Linked DNA regions of Homo sapiens: regions 1, 3, 4 and 5 are each linked to region 2. Evidence: promoter capture Hi-C in 16 types of primary human blood cells and fetal thymus (Javierre and others, 2016). All regions are on one chromosome and are shown on one strand. Each heading gives the region's core, a stretch centred on a gene start or on the middle of the fragment in contact. The rest is flanking DNA. Distances are from core to core; before and after follow the strand shown.

Region 1 (4,000 bases), core at 1-2,500, 310 kb after region 2:
CTCAAGGCCAGCTTGGTGGAGGAAGCCAATGCCCAGGCTGGCCAAGTCCTTCCCATCGGCCATGGTTCTCTCCCTCCACCCCTCTCTGTCAGTCATCCAGCTGAGCAGGGCACACGCCTGCAGGTGTGTCCACCACCCCCATACCCCACTCCCCACCTGGAGGATGGAAGTCCCAACACAGAACCCAACTCTCTGTCCCTACAACAGACGCTGGCTCTGGCAACATCGGCAGGGCTCCAGGCCAGCCTAACCACTGGAGCAATGAATGGGCCACGCAGCCACTCTCAGAAGGGTCTGCAAGGACAAGAACGCCTCTAACACTGCCCCTTGTCCGGGGCAGCTGCTGATTCCCCTGTCCTCGGACAGGCCTGGGCTCCTCTGGCCCCCTCCCTGGCAGGCCAGCCCTCCTCTGGGAGCCTTTCCTACCCGCAAGGCACCGCTCATAGCACCAAGAAGGAACCTATCACCACAAACTGCCCAGATCTTATCTGACTCCTTCCATATAAGGGGACACTGTCCAGGGCCGGGCCCCCACCAGCCCGCCCCTCGAAAAGCTCCTCAGGAGCCCCTGAGGATGCACAGACCCAAGAGGATCTGGATGCGGGACACCTGCCGGCTCCCCTCTGCCTGGCCAAGGCCAGCTCCAGAGCCCCTACCCAGTGACCTTGTCAGGTGACTCTCCCCAAGCCTCAGTTTCCCCACAGGGCCCATAGGGCACACCGATCCCCGCTTAGCCCAGGGCCCATGTTCTCGGACTCGGAGCTCGCGCTTCGGCCAACCCCGGAAAGTCGCGGGGCCCTTGGGTCAGAGGTTAGGGGGTCAGGCGCTCCGCTACCTCAGCTCCCAGTGGCCGCTGCCCACGCCGGCGTCTCCGTCCTTGTTGGGGGCCGGGGCTGGCGCGTCCCCCGCGGCTCCCACGTCGGGGCCCGCAGCGGCGTCCCGCACCTCCTCTTCCGCCGCCGCAGGCCCGCCGCCGCCGTGGCTCGAGGGCCGCGACCCTGTCCTCCGGCGCCGGGAGCTGCCGCGGTCGCCCATGGCCTCAGCCCGCACCCGGCCGCAGCCAAGCGTGGGCCCGCCGGGTTCGTAGCGCCCGAGGCGCGCGGCCCCACCTCCGGGCCCTAGACAACGGCCGCCACTGCCCCCTGCCGGCCGCCGTAGCCCGGGTGACCGCCTCACCAGCGCGTTCAACCCGCCCGCGTCGGGCCCGTCGGCCTCAAGGACAACGGCTGCGTTGCTCCGGAGCCGCTAACTAATGGACGGCCGCCTCTCTCGTCCATTTGTAGTCCGCGGCCGACCTGAGGCGGGGCCTGGAGAGGCTGACGGGGCGCAGGGCACCCTGGGAGTCGTAGTCGCCGCGGGCGCGCCGGCGCAGAGCACCCTGGGAGTCGTAGTCGCCGCGGCCGCACCGGCGCAGAGCACCCTGGGAGCCGTGGCAGCTCCCAGGGCCGGGGCTGCGGGCCGCAAGTGCGCGCAGCGGGAACGGACCTTGCATCGCTCCCGCGTGGTCCCGGGGTCCTGTCCGGCCCCACGGAGCGGGATGGTCCGCTGAGGGGTGCGCTGGGCCCCGACTTCCTGGCCGCTGTGCGCCCGCCCCTCGTCCCACTTGTGTACACACGGGGTCTCGGCGAGTCACTCCGGGCAATCATTTAGGAAGCGCCTAGTGCGCCACGGTCCAGCTGTCCGGGCCGGTGTCCGCGGCGGCTCGCGTCGCCCGCCACCCAGCGCGTTGGTTTCTGCGCACGCAGCTTACAGTAACGTCCCTGGCGCGCTTCTGCTCCGCGAGCCCTCTGGTTACCCCGGCAGGAACCTGCTTTTCTTCGCCTTAGGGGGACGTCAGACAAGGGCCAGGTCAGAAGACCAAGCTGGAGAAATGCACCAGGCCCTGCGTCACCGGGACGCCTGCCTTGCACGCGACTCCCAGGCTCTCCACCTCCCCGCCTGCAGAGCCCGGCGAGAGGAGGGCGAGGGCGAGGGCGAGGGCGCAGGCCCCTTGGTGGTGTCTTCTCAGCCCACCCACTCTCTCCACAAGGAGCTCCACGTCCCTCAACTCTCAGGGCCTCCCAGTTTCCAACGTGGGCCAGCCTCTCCAGGATGTCAGAAGTCTGGGCCGCTGGATCGCCGGGACTCAAGAGGCTTCTGTGCATTTGCACGGCCTGTGCAACCGCCCTGTTGTTTTTTGTTTTCTTTTTTCTTTTTTTGAGACAGTCTCACTCTGTCGCCAGGCTGGAGTGCAGTAGCGCGATCTCGTCTCACTGCAACCTCCACCTCCTGGGTTCAAGCGATTCTCCTGCCTCAGCCTCCCGAGTAGCCAGGACTACAGGCGCGTGCCACCACGCCCAGCTAATTTTTCTGTTTTTAGTAGAGACGGGCTTTCACCATATTGGCCAGGCTGGTCTCGATCTCCTGACCTCGTGATCCGCCCACCTCGGCCTCCCAAAGTGCTGGGATTATAGGCGCAAGCCACCGCGCCTGGCCTGTTGTTATTTTTTCTAAAGATGGGGGTCTCGCTATTCTGCCCAGGCTGGTCTCGAACTCCTGGCCTCACGCAATCCTCCCACCTCGGCCTCTGAAGGTGCTGGGATTACAGGTATGAGCCACTGCCCCAGACATCTTGTATGTTAAATGAAGCAACTAATCAACTGTAACAGCCACAGTTGCGGCCCACCTTGGCTTGGTGTGCATATTGCACAGGGCATGGAGTGAGAACATCCTGGATCTCAGGATGCCAGGGTTCACTGAGGACTCTGACTCTAGAAACACCTTCATTCCTCTGGGGTGAGCAGGGGCAAGCAGCACTTCTCTGGAAGCAAACAGGTGCTCCTCCTGAGGTGGGGTCCTCTCCCGTGGGCTGGTCACAGCCTCGCCTCTGAGCTCCGTCCTCTTCCACCACCTCCACCAACAGTGGCCAGCAGGGCTGCCCCCTTGGTTGCCCCCCTGGTGACATATTCTTGTCACCACAGGCCGCTGTGGGTTGCTGCCAACCAGGTATCAGGCAGGCTGGAGCTACCTGGCAGATGCCCTTTGTGTAGCCTGCCGAGTGGGGCCGCCCTCACTGGACCCAAGAGCCCCTCACACATGGGCCTTGGTCGGTCAGGACCAGCCCCATCTCCTACCCAGTCTCTCAGAATATTCATTTGTTGAATGCAGTCGCTGGCAGACACACTCTGTGGCCAGGTAGGCCCAGACCTGTCTGAGTATGGACTGACAGCAAGCTCAGAGAGGTCTGGACCTGGCCACGGAGCACCTCATGCTAGGCAGAGGAGATCAACGACTCAACCTGTGGTCGCGTCCCAACTCAAAGCCGGCAAGTGGCCACAGGAGAAAGACAATGGGAGGGTGGACTGGACCACCAGGGAGGATGGGTCGGGCCTGGTGAGCAGAGCCAGGCTTGGAGCCAATGGGGAAAGCACTGGCTGTGGGCGGGCCATTAAGGAAGGGCTTTGCCACCGGGGGTGGGGGCGTGGCGGGGCAGCAGCTCCAGAGGTGGGTGAAGCCCTGCCCAGACAGGCCCTATACCCTGGGATCTAGGGTGAGGGGAATGGTCAGGGTAGGTGAGGTTGGTTGGGGACAAGGGTGTGTATGGCTGGGTCATCGAGGAAAGCATGATGCAGATCACCCTGCTGGGGGCAGCAACAAATGAGGGGGCCCAAGCCCGAAGCGAGTTGCCTTCCAGGGCTAGTGGAATAAAGGGCTGGAAGTGGGTTGGGGCCTCAGGCTGATCCCAGGGCCTAGGGGCCATGGGTGGGCCAAGAAGGCCTGTGAGAAGCAAGGGTCCCAGGAGAGTTCACAGCCAGTGGTGGTCTATGGCCTGTGCTGCTCATTCAGAGGGAAACTTGTGTCTGTGGCTGGGAGGAACTGGGGGGTCGAGCTCATCCCAGGCCTCAGGGAGGCCACCTCCATCCTTCCACCCACTCTACGCATCAGAATCCTGGAGAAGTAGAAACAGCCAGTCGCTGTTGGAGTCCTTTGGAAGGAGTGAGGCTAGGAGCCTTCCTCCTGG
Region 2 (4,136 bases), core at 1,223-3,722:
CACATCCAAGCCAACTCCAAGACCAGCCCACCCAGCACCACTAAACATTTCTCAGCTCTGCCCACTCTCTCCACCTCCATGGCACCACCTGTGAACCAGCCACCCTCATTGCTTGCTTGGAGGACTGCAGTGGCCTCCTTACTGTGTGCCACTCAGTAGTTTCTTCCCTCCAATCTGTTCCCACATGCCCTTCCCTAAAGATCAATCAAGATCACAGCCACAGGCCCTGTCCCAACCTGGGCCCTCCATCCCTCCCCAGCACATACATCCACCCTGCTCATTCTGTGCTCTACCACACTTTTGGTTTCTTTGGTGAGGCACACTCCCCAACTGGATCTGGCCCACCTGCTGTACCCTCTCCCAGCACCAGTGCCTCTCCCAGGCAGCATTTATCGCAGGGTAAGCTCAGCATTTATATATGATCATTCAATTCATAGCCACTCTCCACTAGCTGGTAAAGTCGATAAGGTGGGGACAATGCCTGCTATGACTAGCACTGAACCCCCAATTCCTAACATAATGCCTGCCACAGTTGGTGGCCAACATATGTTTTCGGATGAAAGAACACTGGCATATGCAAAGAGAAACAGAGATGGTGCATCAGCCGGAGTTCTTTTATATTAGGAGATTTATTTTAAGGGCTTGGTCACATAATTGTGGAGGCTGGCAAGTCCAAAATCTGTAAGGCAGGCTGGCAACTCAGGTAGGAATTCTATGCTACAATCTTCAGGCAGAATTCCTTATTTTCCAGAAAACTTCAGGTTTTTTTCACTCTTAAGTTCTTCTGCCAGGCACAGTAGCTCACACCTGTAATCCCAGCACTTTGGGAGGCTGAGGCAGAAGGATTGCTTGAGCCCAAGAGTTTGAGGCCTGCCTGGGCAATGTGGTAAGACCCCATGTCTACAAAAAAAAATGTTTTTAATAAAAATTAGCCGAGTGTGGTGGCACACACCTGTAGTCTCAGCTACTTGGGAGGCTGAGGCAGCAGGATCGCTTGAGCATGGGAGGTCGAGGCAGCAGTGAACTATGATGGTGACACTGCATTGCAGCCTGGGCAACAGACTGAGACCTTGCCTCAAAAAAATAAATAAATAAATAAACAAATTTAAAAATTAAAAAAATAAATTTTTAAAAAGTTGTTCAACTGAATGGATGAGGCCCACCCAAATAACTGAAGGTAATCTCCTTTAAAGTCAACATCTTGTAGCTATTAATCACGTCTATTAGACGTCTAATAGACGTGATTAATAGCTACAAGTATATAATAGCTTCACAGCACTATCTAGGCTAGATTTTGACCAAACACCTGGACACTATAGCCTCACAAAATTGACACATAAAATGTAACCATCACTGACTGCATCAACCCAAGAGGCTAACAGTGAAATAAGACCATGACAAGCTAATTTTCACATGTTGAAGGAAAGCCCAACAGAGACACTCTATAAAGTTAGAGGGGTGACTGAAGAGACCTCAACTCTGGTTCTTGGGGGCTCTGGTCCCTGGGGCCAGAGTGACTGAGCCAGGATTACAGTCTGAAGCATTAGAGGAGGGGTGGGGGTAGGCCCCCCATTGTGAGGTCCAGGCAGAATGCTCAACTCACAGCGATCCCAGCCCTGGCTGACCTTCTTCCCCTTCCTCATTCCCACATTCTACCAGGAGTCTGTCCTCTGGCCTGTACCTGGACTTCGCTATCCTCTCCCTGCCCCAAAAAGAGGTTTGAGGGAGAACAGCCACAGAGCCAATGGAGGCCACGAGGACACGGCCTCACTCAGTACTCAAGGTCAGTACCATAGAGTTATCTGTAGATAGCTCTAAGAGAAGGGGAGCATCATGAGGACTGAGTCCTGAGTTCTTAGAACCAGGTGAGGGATGCAGTCTTGGGCTCCTGAAGGACTAAAGTCAGGAAAATTCAAGGAGCTGGGGAATAGAGATCCAAGTGCGGAGAAGGCAACGACGGGAGATTTGGAATAGGGAACGCTGAGTCACCAGAAATGGAAACTCCAAGTTATAGAGAGCTCCTGGACCAGCAGTAAGATAGAGACTCTGAGCACCTGGGTCAGAAGAAATCATGGGCGAGTGTCCAGGCCTTCAAGACACAGCAACCAGGAGAAGGCTGAGAGGCCAAACCCAGGCATGTTCAAGATCACCAAGAAGGGGCATCCTGGCCAGGAAGGTGGAGTGGTGGGTTTTCATTCAACAAATATTTACTGTTTACCTACAAACATTGTGCCAAGCCCTGTGCTGGACACTGGGGTTTCCAGGAACGTGTTACAATCCCTGACCTCACTGTAAAGCCAGTGGACAATGTTAAGGAGCTAGCACGGAACTGGAACCAGGGGAAGTGCTATGACACAGGACACATCTGCTGGGGAAACCCAGCGGGCAGCAATTAACTTGCGGTGGGGGAGAGGAAGTTTCACGGAAGAGGCACCATGAGGGTGAAGTTGGCGAGACAGAGAAAAGGTCAGGACATTCCAGGCCGAGGCAAGGCCTGTGTACAGGCCTGGTGGCATGGAGAGCTGAGGGTGTTAGAGCAGAGAGGGCAAGGAAGAGGGCACAGCCTCTGACCTCACAATACCCAGGGCCCACTGGGCCAGCCTTGCAGACTCTGCACCCTCCTTCAGCCCAGGCAAGGCCTGGGGCCCTGGGCAGCCTCCAGGTGCAGTGCCCTCCCGTGGGCCGCACCCTTGCCACTGCCCCAGGGCATGTCTCTACTCACCAATTATGAAGGGCTTCGGCATCAGATAGAGAGGCTGGTGCGGGAAAATGAGGAACTGAAGAAGTTGGTGCGGCTCATTCGGGAGAATCACGAGCTCAAGTCAGCGATCAAGACTCAGGCAGGCGGGCTCGGCATCAGCGGGTTCACGAGTGGGCTTGGTGAGGCAACAGCAGGCCTTTCCTCACGCCAGAACAATGGTAAGAGGCCTCGCTCCCAAGAGAGTGAGGAGGGAAGTGGGGACTGCACCAGAGAGGAGAGACTCAGTGTGCTGAGGTCTCAGGAGGTCATGGAGGGAGTGCCCTTCTCCTTGCCCTCTCTGCTCTAACACACTCAGCTCACCAGACAATGTGCTTCCTGTCCTGGAGGAGGCTGCATTCCCTCCTGTCCAGGGTGGACCTCTCCACAGGTGCTCAGAGCCCACCCACCCCTGCGGTGACCTGCCTCCATCACAGGCCCTGTACCTTGCCCTCCTTACCTGGCCCTCTCCTCTGTCCACCATCAGGTATGAAATCTTCCTCCTTCCCTGAAAGGACACCTCTGCTCTTTCTGGTCTCTGCTTATTTAAGCCTCTACAGCTTGGCAACGAACCCTGACACCACTGCTCTAGAACGGTCACAAGTGCCTTCCTAGGTGCTGCATCCTTCTCCACCTCTGCATGGCATCTGAGATCGATAGCCCTCCTCCATGACCCTCTTTCTGAGTTCCCAAGCCATCTTGTCCATCCCTCTGGCTCATCTTAATTGAGGCTGCTCCCAGGCTCTGGGTCCAGGCCCTGTCCCTCCACCCTCAGCCAGCGTACCCACAGCGCAGCTTCAACTCTCCACTAGAACTCAAGATCCCCTCCAGATCCTGCAGGCTCAATGAGTCACTGGAACTTAGCTCACTCCAAACTAGACATGTTTCTGACTGATAACTTGGGTCTTTCCAGCAGCTAAAGCCCTTCAGGCTTGTGCTCACTCCCCTCCTGTCTTAATTCCCTGCCCCCTACCCACTGGGTTCCCTGCCATACAACCTGAAATGTGGCATAGGGCTGGTCTTCAGTTCTCCCTTACTGATTACGAGCACATAGACACCTCTAGCTTTAAATGTTATACCCCTAATGACACAGAGACAACAGAGAGGGTAAAAAGAATAATACACATGGGGCCAGGTGCGGTGGCTCACACCTATAATCCCAGCACTTTGGGAAGCTGAGGCAAGCAGATGACCTGAGGTCAGGAGTTTGAGATCAACATGGCCAACATGGCGAAACGCCATCTCTACTAAAAACACAAAAATCTTCTGGACATGGTGGTTCACGCCTATAATCCCAGCTACTCGGGAGGCTGAGGCAGGAGAATCACTTGAACCTGAGAGGTGGAGTTTGCAGTGAGCCAAGATCACACCACTGCACTCCAGCCTGGTCAACAGAGCG
Region 3 (3,883 bases), core at 8-2,507, 280 kb after region 2:
ACACCGACGCGCTCATCTGCTGGAGCCCGGTGAGGGCAGCGCGCGGGCGCGGGGCCCGTGGGGACCGGGAGGGAGCAGGGCCGCGGCGGACGGCGCGGGAGGGCTGCGGGGAGGGGCCCTGCCGCACTTCAGCTTACGCGCGGTGAGCCTGCCCTGCCCCCGCCAGAGAAGGGCGGCGGGTCCCGAGCCTGCTCAGACCCAGAGCCTTAAGTTGGGAAAGCGGCTACGAGACCCACACTCGGTTCAACCCCTGCCCCAGCGAAGTTTCCCTGGGATGGGGAGAATGGGGCGTCTCTTGTATTGGGCTTCTGCTAACTGTTGGGCGGTTGCGGAAGTGTCCGCGCTTAGGGCAAGCACCCGGCTTCGCCAGCGGACGCTATGCCCCAGAGGACATCGGCGTCCCCAGGGGACAGCCTACGGGGTGCTGGGTCGGCAACTATTAGGAGAAAGTCAGGACTTGGCACGTGAAGTGGAGGGCGTTGCTGTAGTGGAACAGGAAAGGCAGTGGAAACAGTAAGACGTCATGAAGCTTCAGGTTGATCTCAAGCCCGTTTCCGAATCCCAAATCTGGGTTTCCCAAGAGGAGTTTTGTTTTTCATTCCTTATGGGGCATCTTTATTCGTGTTTCTGTCTTCAGTTGCCTGGCAGCAGGCTTGTTTACATGGTCCGACCCTGCAAGACCGGACAGCTCCGGTTTGCAGAAGTAAATCAGTGATTGTCTGGAGTTGGAGATCAGAATCTGCTGTTCACATCCCGGCTGTGACGTCGTGTCCGGTGAGGGGCAGAGCCACCGCCTGCGGCTGGCAAGTGATGACCTGAAGAAGGGCCACACTGGCCGAGTGGGGTGACTCTTGCTTGTAATCCCAGCACTTTGGGAGGCGGAGGCGGGTGGATCACTTGAGGCCAGGAGTTCGAGACCAGCCCGGACAATATGGCAAAACCCCAGCTCTACTAAAAATACAAAAAATTTGCCGGGCGTGGTGGTGCTTGCCTGTGGTCTTAGCTACTTGGGAGGCTGAGATAGGAGGACTCCCTGGACCTGGGAGGCAGAGGTTGCACTGAACCAAGATCCCGCCACTGCAGCCTGGCAAAGAGTGAGACCCTGTCTAAGAAAAAAAAGAAAAAAAAGAAAGGCCACTGATCATTGGGAGCTTTTGGAGGCACCGTGACCGGCAGGGTGCCACCAAGCATGTGTGGCCTCCCAGGAGCTAAGACCCCAGAGTTCTTCAGGCTCTGCTGAGTGCCTCCCATTTGCACAGCCTCTTTATGCTGTTAGGAATGAAGAAAAGTCTAAACTGAAGCTGCCCCAGGCAGGAGGCCAGGTTTTCTGCTTCTTGGGTTTACTGAGGCTCTGCTTTACCTACAGAGTGTTTGGAAATAAAGAGAAGACTGGAAATCTTTGCTCTTGTTAGAAACACTTTGTGTTTGTCCCGCTGACACCTCTGTGTTGGCCTTCCCATCCCCAGGTCCCATTAAGGCACAGTGCACCTTCCTGGAGGCTGGCTTCATTTCACCATCTCTTCATTCTAGACCTTGGATTCTTGTGCAAAGGAAATACTCCCATGTTTCTGTCTTCTTTTATCCGTCTTTTTCTTTTTTCTTTTTTTTTTTTTTAGACCGAGTCTTGCTCTGTCACCCAGGTTGGAGTGCAGTGGTGCGATCTCGGCTCACTGCGACCTCCACCTCCCGGGTTCAAGCAATTCTGCCTCAGCCTCCCGAGTAGCCAGGACTACAGGTGCGTGCTGCCACACCCGGCTGATTGTTGTATTTTTAGTAGAGACGGGGTTTCACCACATTGGACAGGCTGGTCTGGAACTCCTGACCTCAAGTTATCCACCCGCCTTGGCCTCCCAAAGTGCTGGGATTACTGGTGTGAGCCACTGCACCCAGCCCTTCTTCTTTTTCTTATTCCCCTTAATCCTCAGAAGTTAAGGGGAATAACTCCCCCATTGGGGGAGGGGCATCCGCGATTATCTGGGATATTCTAAGCTTAATCCTACTAGCGTGATCTGTCCTGTCCCGTAATCTGCTTGCTGTTTCTGCTTAAAGATTATGAGGCATGTGGGTTAGGGCCCAGTGTACCCTTTTTTGGGACCGAGGCATGTTCTGGGCAGGGCTTTTGAGCAAGGAAGGCAGGTGTGATGAGGCCCGTGGCCAGCCTCCACTCCACTCACAGGTGCACCACCTGTGGATCTGTTCTCCCTGGGGAGGGATGGGGAGCCAACTGGAATGTGAGTGTTTGGTTCCACCTGGTCAGTATGAAGTGGCAATGGTTGGTGCAGGACGTAGCACTGGGGGCGAGCATGGCAATGAGACAGAAACACTGACTTAAAACTGGAAGGAAGCCCTTCTCCAGGCCGCGCAGGGGGCTGCAGAGCTTTCCGGCGCTGGCTGCCTGGCCTGGAGAAAGGAGGTGATCATCCCATCCTGTGACTTTGAGAGCACTCACACAAGCCCTGAGGACTCCCTGTCAGCAGAGTCCCAACAGGGCACCCTCCCACAAATCTACTGCCCAGGCCCAGCTGGCTCTCGGAGGCCTTGAGAAGGCCCTGGTGCTCTTGCTCTCTGCTGCCTTCTCTGGGAGAGTCTCCTTCTGGCTCAGAGTCTTACCACCATTCTGCCAAGAAAAACCCTCCCTATTTGACACAAGAAGATGAGGCAGAATCACAGGCATGGTGACTAACTCTCAAGGCTGAATAACCTGGGGGAGACCGAGGCCCAGAAACTGGCCAGTAACTTTACTGAGCCTGGCCAGGAATGGGACCAGGTCTGGACCACCATTGCACGTCCCCTCCCTGGCCTGAGATCAGGACTCCCACTGCAGCCACTGGAGGCAGAATGCCGGGTCACTGCCCAGGAGACCCCATTGGTGGGGACTGTGGCAGCTACCCCATCCCTGTGTTGTTTGATTTCCCACCCCCCCCTCCCAAGACCCTCATTCCCATGAGCACCCCACCCACACAGGCAAGGGCCTTGAGGGGACCCAGCAAGTCGTGGAGGACAGCACAGCCTTGGAGAGGAAATGTGTCAGCCACAAGGTTATGATCCCGGGGATCCACATAAGAGCATGGGCGTGCACGTGGGTGGTCCTCCCTCAGCCAGCTTCTCAACAGCTTCTCCCAAAGGTACACCTGGATCCAGTACCACTGAGACCCAAAGACGGGGTTGGGGGACTGAATACCTGGACTGACAGGCACCTCCATAGAACTGAGACCCATGAGACCCGGGACCCGCAGCCTCCCTGCCCCGTGCCCTGGTGCCGGCCCTCAGCCCAGCTTCCTCGTCTGCATGCAGCAGCTCCTCTGTCCACCAGCAGAGGCTCTTCTAGGGCCTTGCTGGGCTGCAGCTGACTCAGGAGGGCAACAGCCTCTTCAGAGAATTTGACAGCATGGAGAACCAAACAAAAGCAGAAAGTGAAGCCTCAGAACTGGGTTCACCATCATCCCAGTTTTTTACAAGCTATGATTTTGTCCCATCTTTATTAACAAGATAAGGAAGTATGAAAAGTAATCTCGACATCTGAGATGGTGAGATTACAGCCCCAGGAGCCACCCAGCTGGCTGAGGAGCCTGAGAACAAGGCACAGCCACATGACCTGTGCCAGACAAATGCTAGAATGATGGTCACGCAGGTTAGAACGAACCCAGGTAGACGGAGGCCTCAGGATCAGGGTGAGGCCAGAGGGGGCACCTGGGTGCAAAATTTAAGGAAGCACTTTTTGTTTTTTAGATAAGGTCTCGCTCTGTTGCCCAGGCTGGAGTGCAGGGCTATGATTGCAGCTCGCTGCAGCCTCTGCCTCCCAGGCTCAAGTGATCCAGTCACCTCAGCTGAGTCACTGGGACTACAGGCTTGCACCACCAGACCTGGCTTTTTTTTTTTTTTC
Region 4 (3,741 bases), core at 1-2,500, 400 kb after region 2:
CTCTGGGTTCCTCCCTCATGAGGTCCCTCCCGGGGCTCCTACAGGCTCCCAACTGCCCAGTAGTGAGCCCCACGTTGTGAATCCCCAGCCGCAGGCCGACTCCTGGGCGTCTCCCCAGGCCCCCAGGCTCCCCGAAGGCTTTGCAGCCAGGCCGGGTCCCATGGGCCGTGGGACCCTCCTCACCCACTCCCCTGGTCTGCCTGGACTCTCCCTCACCATCTTGGGGGTCTGGCCGGCAGCCCGGGCCTGCATCCTCTGCAGCAGCCAGCTCAGGCCCGGGGTCAGGGCCTTGGGGCTCTCGAGCAGGGCCAGGAGGTGGTCTGCATGAGAGGCCCAGAGGCCAGCCCGAGCGTCCTCACAGGTGCCCTCGGGGTTGCTGAGGTACAGGACGGCGGCGGCACTGAGGCGGGCGACGTACCTGGCCTCCAGGACCGGGCCCGGGGGCAGCCCTGACCCCTCAGGCTCGCCCAGGCCCAGGGCGTCCTCCACAGACAGGCACTGTGGGCAGAGACAAGTGAGCAGGGGCGCTGGGCCCACCAGGGAGGGGAGAGGCAGGCCTGGCCAGGGGCTTCCCCGAGGGCCTGTTTCCCTTTCAAGTCCAACAACGTCCACCATCCTCTCTCAACCCCTGGCGCCCTTCCGTCTCCCCAGGCCCCTGTCCTGCTTCCCCAACTACAGGGGTGCACGCAGAGGGGTCCCCAACAGTGGTCCCCCATCCCCAGGGGACTCCCCTGGAGCCACTGCCAATTTGATGGCAGAGGGCCGGCAGGGGGAGTTGGCCCTGGGGTCCTGGGGAGAAGAGGGACTGTGTCCCTGGAAAGGCCTGTCTGCCCTCATGAGCAGGAGGGTGGGCTCTGGCCTGTGGGGAGGGTCAGGGTGCCCAGGTACTGCCACTAGCCTCCTCCGCCTCCTGGAGTTTGCCCAGGGCCCTTTGCTGCCGGCTGGCAGGGCGGAGCTGGCGGGAAGAGGCCAGGGCTGGGGGACCCGTCGGGTGGGGCTGTTACCTTTCCACACGGCCCGTTGGCGCAGTGCACACGGTCCGCCAGCGTATTTAACAGGCCGCCCAGAGCCTCTTGATCCAGAGCGCCCTGGCCAGAGGTGAGCAGGCTCAGCAGACCAGCAGGCGGGGACGCCGTCGCCGTCACCACCAGCACAGCCAGAAGCAGCCCCAGCTCCAGCGAGACCAGGGACGCCATACTCAGCTCCCAGCGTGCTCAGTGGGTGTTGCTGTGGCCAAGGCCCAGTGCTTCTGGGCTGGCTGAGGGCGGCTTTGCTGGGGTTGTCCAGGGCCAGACTGGGGCTGGGCTAGGACCCGCCCGGGCTGCATGAGGACCTCTCCCAGGTATTCCTGCAGAGCTCTGTGATTGGCTGCTGGAGATGCCTGGGTTAACCATTCCAGTGGCAGATCCTCCCCAACAGCCTGGAGCCACTGCCTGTGGGGGTCGAGGGCTGGGCCCCTTCCCCTGGACAGGCAGCCTCGGTGGTCTTTTTTTTTTCGAGTTGGAGTTTTGCTCTTGCTGCCCAGGCTGGAGTGCAATGGCGTGATCTTGGCTCACGGCAACCTCCGCCTCCCGGGTTCAAGTGCTTCTCCTGCCTCAGCCTCCCGAGTAGCTGGGATTACAGGCAGCGCCACCACGCCCGGTTACTTTTGTATTTTTAGTAGAGACAGTGTTTCTCCATGTTGGTCAGGCTGGTCTTGAACTCCCAACCTCAGGTGATTCGCCCGCCTTGGCCTCCCAAAGTGCTGGGATTACCGGCGTGGCTCACCACGCCAGGCCAGCCTGGGTGGGCTTCTGTCCTCTGCCTGCTGCCCCCCAAGCTGTGGGGCAGGGCTGGGGTGTCCCCTTCTGGCTGTCCATCTGGGGGCTGCCTCCAAGCTGGGGGACACAGGGCAGAGGTGCACAGATGCCCCCAGAGCCTGAGAGCTCCCAGGTCCCTGCCTCTGCCCCTCCCAACAGAGGCTGCCCAGACACCCTCGGTGGCCCCTGTTGGGGGTGGGGACATGGACCTCCCTCCTCCTGGGTCCTGGGCTGTGGTCCCTGTTGGGGACTGCGATGGAGTCAAAGAAACTGAAAAGGTGCCTGCTGCATCATGCTCCCTTAGGCCGGAGACAGCCCCAGGAAGCTCCAACACAGACAAACAGGAAGACGGAGCTGGGCCCTGGCAGCCACCTGGCCGAGCTTGGGTCAGGATAAGATTGGGGCAAGACCCCAGCTCTAGCCCCGGGGGCAGGGAGGCTGTGGCTCCCAGCCCTGCCCTCTCTGTGGGCTCCCTCTCTGGCCTTTGAGCCTAGAGGCCTTATCTCTACCGTGGTGGTGATGGCAGGAAGTCTGGGGGAAGGGGAAGGCAGATCTCAGGGCAGCTTTGCCTTCTGAAGGGGGAGTCCAGATGCCACCTCCCGCCCGGTCCAGCCAGCCTGACCCTGAGCATTGTGGGTGGGGCTGGGGTGGGGAGCTGGGTGCCTGAGGCCCAAGGACTCTGTCCCGCCATACACAGGGTGGGACGGGGCAGGGCGGGCATTGAGCCCAGTGTCCTGGGGTCAGGGTGCTTCCCCTGCCGGCCTCACCCCACCAAGCGGATCTCATGGTGCTCCTCTGGCTGGGCCCACCCGCAGTGGTATCCTTCTGGGGGCCCTTAGGGGAGCCTGCCGGGGGTGCAGATCCTGCCGGGGGTGCAGAGCCTGCTGGGGGTGCAGATGATTTCTGGGTCCCAGGACCATGAGGGGGCTGCTCTACACACAGCCTGAAGATGCTGCGGACCCAAACTGGCCCTTTCCCTCCCACACCACCCCAGGACCAATGGGCTGGCTGGAGGCCACCCATGCTAAAATAGGCTCAAGGGCCTACTTTAGCTTCTGGGCAAAGGTCTTGGCCTGGGCCTGACTCTGTGGCCTTCCTGAGCTGCCTCCCCAGTAGGCCTCAGTGCTGGGCTACAGGCCTCCTCCATTCCCTCCATTCATGTGACCCCACCCCTCCCAGCAGAAACTCTCTTCCGTAGCCCAGGAGCAGCTGTTGAGGGTTTCACCTGCCCATGCCCCAGCCTAAGGCCGGCTTCCCCAGAGCAGACGGGTTGCACTCTCCTGCCCCTCAGGCCCACTCTGTCATCCAACAAGCTCACTGCAACTGGCCCATCTTAAAAACAACACCGGCTGGTCACGCTGGCTCACACCTGTAATCCCAGCGCTGTGGGAGGCCGGGGCGGGGGGATCACTTAAAGTCAGGAGTTTAAGACCAGCCTGGGCAACATGGTGAAACCCGAGCTCCACTAAAAACACAAAAACAAATTAAGGCACCCTGAGTGGTGGTGGGTGCCTGTAGTCCCAGCGACTCGGGAGGCTGAGGCAGAATTGCTTGAGCCCAGGAGGTGGAGGCTGCAGTGAGCCACGATCGCATCACGCACTCCAGCCCGGGCAACCTGGCAAGACCCTGACTCTAAAAAGAAAAAAACAACAACAAAAAAAAGCCCACGTTCAATGGCAGCACTATTCAAAAGATGGAAGCAACTCAAGTATCCAAACGCGCATGAGTGAACACATCGTGGTTCATCCACAGTGGAACACGATTCAGCCAGAAAAAGGAAGGAAACCGGCCTGCACCGTGACTTGGATGCACCTGGAGGAGACTGTGATGAACGAAAGCAGCCAGACGCAAAAGGGCAAGGACGGTGTGATCTGACTGATGTGAGGACCCCAGCCAGTCAAATTCATGGAGACAGAAAGTAAAAGGGTTTTGGGAGGCCGAG
Region 5 (4,270 bases), core at 11-2,510, 370 kb after region 2:
CCTGGCATCTGGTTTTGCTTGGAGTTCCTGCTGTCCCTGCCTGCAGATTTTGGGTGGCATTGTCTGTCTTGCAGGGCCATCCAGTCTCGCAGCCTGGGGTGGGTGACGACAGAGCCTCGGGTCCTCTGCCTTTTTCTCGTGACCCTCCGCTGCAGTGCATGCAAGGGCCACACAGGGCTGCCAGCCACCGTCCCCTGCAGCCTGGTTCTGAAATGTCGGCTTGGCAGGCCTGGGTTTGTCTCACCCTCTATTTCATGGCATGCAGCTGTGTCTGGTGTCCACCTCCTCGGCCACCGGCTTGGTGAGCCTGCGTTTTGGGCTCACTTTGTGGGAAAACATCTTCTCACAGCTCGCTCTCAGGGGCTGAGCTGGGGTTGCAGGGAGGGACCTCTGTTGTTAATTTTCCCAGCAGTCTGCACGTTCTCCTTGGCTCTAAGCCGTCACGGTTGCATAGACAAGCAGGCCTGTGGAGCTTCCCTGGCAGGGCACAGGGTAGCCTGGGAACACATCCTGGGTGACAGCAGCACCCATGCAGGGGCCCAGGAAGGAGCGCGGGTGAGGAGCATGGCGGTGCCAGTGCACCATGAGAAAAGGCAGCAGAGGTCAGAACAGGCCACAGGTACCCAAATGATCAGGGGCTGCCCAGGAAGGTGGAAGGTTTGGGACAATGTTTCTCTGCCTCAGAGCCCTGTCTTTAATCTCTGCCACTCCTTACATTTTCTTTTTTTTTTTTTTTTGAGACGGAGTCTTGCTCTGTCACCCAGGGTGGAGTGCAGTGGTGCGATCTCAGCTCACTGCAACCTGTGCTCCCTTGGTTTAAGCGACTCTCCTGTCTCGCCTCCCAAGCAGCTGGGATTTCGGGTGTGTGGCACCACGCCCGGCTAGTTTTTGTATTTTTAGTAGAGACAGGGTTTCGTCATGTTGGACAGGCTGGTCTCCAACTCTTGACCTCAGGTGAACTGCTCAGCTCGGCCTCTCAAAGTGCTGGGATTACAGGTGTGAGCCACCACACCTGGCCCTAAACTTAAATCACCACCAGGCGCGGTGGCTCACGCCTGTAATCCCAGCTACTTTGAGAGGCTGAGGCAGGGGAATCACTTGAACCTGGGAGGCGGAGGTTGCAGTGAACCAAGATCACGCCATTGCACTCCAGCCTGGAAGACAGAGCCAGACCCGTCTCAAAAAATAAAAATAAAAAATAAAATCACCTATATGTGGCCGGGCATGGTGGCTCACGCCTGTAATCCCAGAACTTTGGGAGGCCGAGGTGGGTGGATCACGAGGTCAGGAGATCGAGACCATCCTGGCTAACATGGTGAAACCCCGTCTCTACTAAAAAATACAAAAAATTAGCCGGGCTTGGTGGCGGTTGCCTGTAGTCCCAGCTACTTGGGAGGCTGAGGCAGGAGAATGGCGTGAACCCGGGAGGCGGAGCTTGCAGTGAGCCAAGATCACGCCACTGCACTCTAGCCTGGGTGACAGAGCGACTCTCTGTCTCAAAAAAAAAAAAAATCACCTATGTGTTTTGCTTTCCCCCACCGCCCCTTTTTCTTTTATTTTTTGGAGACAGTCTCACTCTGTTGCCCAGGCTGGAGTGCAGTGGCTTCGTCTCAGCTCACTGCAACCTCCATATCCCAGGTTCAAGCAATTCTCATGCTTCGGCCTCCCGAGTAGCTGGGACTACAGGTGTGCGCGCCACCATGCCCGGCTAATTTTTTATATTTTTAGTAGAGATGGGGTTTTGCCATGATGCCCAGGCTGGTCTTGAACTCCTGAGTTCAGGTGATCCGTTTGCCTCAGCCTCCCAAATGGCTGGGATTACAGGTGTGAGCTATCATACCTGAACTAAATTTAACTTTTTTTTTAAAATTTTTTAATTTTTTATTTAACTTATTTTTTTTTATTTTTTGAGATGGAGTTTCGCTCTTGCTGCCCAGGCTGGAGTGCAATGGTGGGATCTCGGCTCACTGCAACCTCCATCTCCCGGGTTCAAGCGATTCTCCTGTCTTAGCCTTCTGAGTAGCTGGAATTACAGGTGCCCACCATCACGCCCGGCTAATTTTTGTATTTTCAGTAGCAATAGGGTTTCATCATGTTGGCCAGGCTGGTCTTGAACTGCTGACCTCAAGTGATCTGCCCGCCTCGGACTCCCAAAGTGCTGGGATTACAGGCATGAGCCACCACGCAGGCCATGCCTGGAGTTTTTGTTGGGGTATTAATACTTGGGCGGGATTGATTGAAAATCTCCAGTTTCTCAGAAAATCCCAGGAATTCAGTTTCCAGCCCCGGTCCTCCCGCTCCCATCCCCGTGGGCCCCAAAGTGGTGGGTCTTCGCCCTGAGTCCCTTCTTAGCATAAGCCCTCAGGGCCACCATGGAAAACAGAGGCACTCCTTATCACTCAGGAAATCCCAAGGACTTAAGAAGGGACAAAGGTCAGTCCTCTGTTTGGGTAAAGTTAATTCTTCATTGCACATGATTGGACACCTTTGAAGATTACAGGCTTGTAAGTATTGTATAACAAGAGTCAGCAAACTGTGGTCCCTGGGCCAAGTGCAGGGGCCTAGTGTGGCAGCTGTCTGATTTGCAAATAAAGCTTTATTGGAACACAGCCATGCCCATGCATTGCCTGTGACCACTTGGTGCACAGTTGCCCATGTGCTCATGCGTGGCCAGAGTGCCTAAAATAATTACCATCTCATCTTTTACAGAAATATTTCACTGCTTCTTATTTTGTCAGTGTGGGTTTGTCTGATGTTTGCTTGTGGTCATATTCGTCATCTGTTTTGGCAGGAATCACACAGGAGTGACACTGCTTCTGTCCTGCCGGGGGCACATGATTTCGGTTTCCCCCATTTGATTCCCTTGTAATTAGCCGTATGGAGGCAGTTGAGATGATGTGTCTGTTCTCACTGCTCCTCCACCCAGCAGTTTGTTTGTTTCTTTATTTATTTATTGAGACAGTCTTGCTCTGTCACTCAGGCTGGAGTACAGTGGCAACATCTTGGCTCACTTCAGCCTCTGCCTCCTGGGTTCAAGCAATTCTCCCAGCCCCAGTCTCCCCAGTAGCTGGGATTACAGACACCTGCCACCACACCCAGCTAATTTTTTTTTAATTTTTAGTAGAGATGGGGTTTCTCCATGTTGGCCAAGCTGGTCTTGAATTCCTGACCTTAAGTGATCCATCTGTCTCAGCCTCCCAAAGTGCTGGGATTATAGGCATGAGCCACTGCGCCTGGCCTCCACCCAGCAGTTTAGCACTCATTGATACTTTTTTTTTTTTTTGAGACAGAGTTTCACTCTTGTTGCCCAGGCTGGAGTGCAATGGTGGGATCTCCGCTCACTGCAACCTCCACCTCCTGGATTCAAGCGATTCTCCTGCCTCAGCCTCCTTAGTAGCTGGGGATTACAGGCACACGCCACCACACCCAGCTAATTTTGTATTTTTTAGTAGAGGCGGGTTTCTCTGTGTTGGTCAGACTGGTCTTGAACTCCTGACCTCAGGGGATCCGCCCGCCTTGGCCTCCCAAAGTGCTGGGATTATAGGTGTGAGCCACCACACCCGGCCTCCAACATTTTGTGAAAAACTTCAAACATACAGCAATGTTGAAAATGCTCTGTGAGGCAATGTGAAATGCAATGTGAAAATGCTTTGGGAGGCCGAGGAGGGCGGATCACGAGGTCAGGAGTTCGAGACCAGCCTGACCAACGTGGAGAAACCCCATCTCTACTAAAGATAGAAAAATTAGCTGGGCATGTGGTGGGCACCTGTAGTCCCAGCTCCTCGGGAGGCTGAGGCGGGAGAATTGCTTGAACCTGGGAGGCGGAGGTTGCAGTGAGCCTAGACTGTGCCACTGCACTCCAGTCTGGGCGACAGAGCGAGATTCCATCTCAAAAAAAAAAAAAAAATTAAATTCCTTCTCCCCCAAGCACAAGTCTGTGGGACTTTTTCACATCTTTAAGTTTTGTTACAAAAGTGTTGTGTTTACTATAACAAATTTTAATAGTAGAAAAGTTAGAGCCGGGCACGGTGGCTCACGCCTGTAATCCCAGCACTTTGGGAGGCCAAGGTGGGCGGATCACGAGGTCGGGAGATCGAGACCATCCTGGCCAACACGGTGAAACCCCATCTCTACTAAAAATACAAAAAAATTAGCCGGGCGTGGTGTTGGGCGCCTGTAGTCCCAGCTACTCTGGAGGCTGAGGCAGGAGAACGGCGTGAACCTGGGAGGCGGAGCCTGCAGTGAGCCAAGATCGCCACCACACTCCAGC

The links. The method cuts DNA at HindIII sites, captures the fragments that hold promoters and counts their contacts. A CHiCAGO score of 5 or more calls a contact.
Region 1: the fragment with the promoter of DGAT1 here is called in contact with the fragment with the promoter of SPATC1 in region 2 in 2 of 17 cell types (endothelial precursors and erythroblasts); the score reaches 6.3 in endothelial precursors.
Region 3: a fragment that was not itself captured here is called in contact with the fragment with the promoter of SPATC1 in region 2 in 7 of 17 cell types (M0 macrophages, M1 macrophages, M2 macrophages and 4 more); the score reaches 11.8 in M0 macrophages.
Region 4: the fragment with the promoter of SLC39A4 here is called in contact with the fragment with the promoter of SPATC1 in region 2 in 3 of 17 cell types (erythroblasts, naive CD4 T cells and endothelial precursors); the score reaches 9.1 in erythroblasts.
Region 5: a fragment that was not itself captured here is called in contact with the fragment with the promoter of SPATC1 in region 2 in 2 of 17 cell types (endothelial precursors and erythroblasts); the score reaches 5.9 in endothelial precursors.

Annotation. Positions count from the first base shown.
Region 1 is chr8:144,325,602-144,329,601 of GRCh38, forward strand. DGAT1 (diacylglycerol O-acyltransferase 1) reads right to left here and starts at 1,251. Exons shown (of 17, transcript NM_012079.6): 1 at 836-1,251. The coding sequence starts at 1,035. RefSeq lists silencers at 878-947, 958-1,677. The HindIII fragment of the contact is 39,409 bases long and covers 1-4,000 here.
Region 2 is chr8:144,009,808-144,013,943 of GRCh38, forward strand. It overlaps SPATC1 (spermatogenesis and centriole associated 1), which reads left to right and starts at 2,473. Exons shown (of 5, transcript NM_198572.3): 1 at 2,473-2,919. The coding sequence starts at 2,709. It also overlaps a transcript of PARP10 not described here. RefSeq lists an enhancer at 2,305-2,524. The HindIII fragment of the contact is 8,382 bases long and covers 1-4,136 here.
Region 3 is chr8:144,291,846-144,295,728 of GRCh38, forward strand. It overlaps HSF1 (heat shock transcription factor 1), which reads left to right. Exons shown (of 13, transcript NM_005526.4): 1 at 1-29. Among named protein-coding and RNA genes, the nearest start is that of HSF1, 2.2 kb to the left of the region's middle. RefSeq lists a silencer at 1-106 and enhancers at 238-894, 497-556. The HindIII fragment of the contact is 1,460 bases long and covers 528-1,987 here.
Region 4 is chr8:144,415,594-144,419,334 of GRCh38, forward strand. It overlaps SLC39A4 (solute carrier family 39 member 4), which reads right to left and starts at 1,251. Exons shown (of 12, transcript NM_130849.4): 1 at 1,005-1,251; 2 at 217-498. The coding sequence starts at 1,196. It overlaps LOC124902041 (a long non-coding RNA gene), which reads left to right. Exons shown (of 2, transcript XR_007061145.1): 2 at 1-3,741. The HindIII fragment of the contact is 10,558 bases long and covers 1-3,741 here.
Region 5 is chr8:144,384,466-144,388,735 of GRCh38, forward strand. The region is part of intron 3 of ADCK5 (aarF domain containing kinase 5); the gene reads left to right. Among named protein-coding and RNA genes, the nearest start is that of MIR939, 7.6 kb to the right of the region's middle. RefSeq lists an enhancer at 3,984-4,270. The HindIII fragment of the contact is 2,664 bases long and covers 1-2,592 here.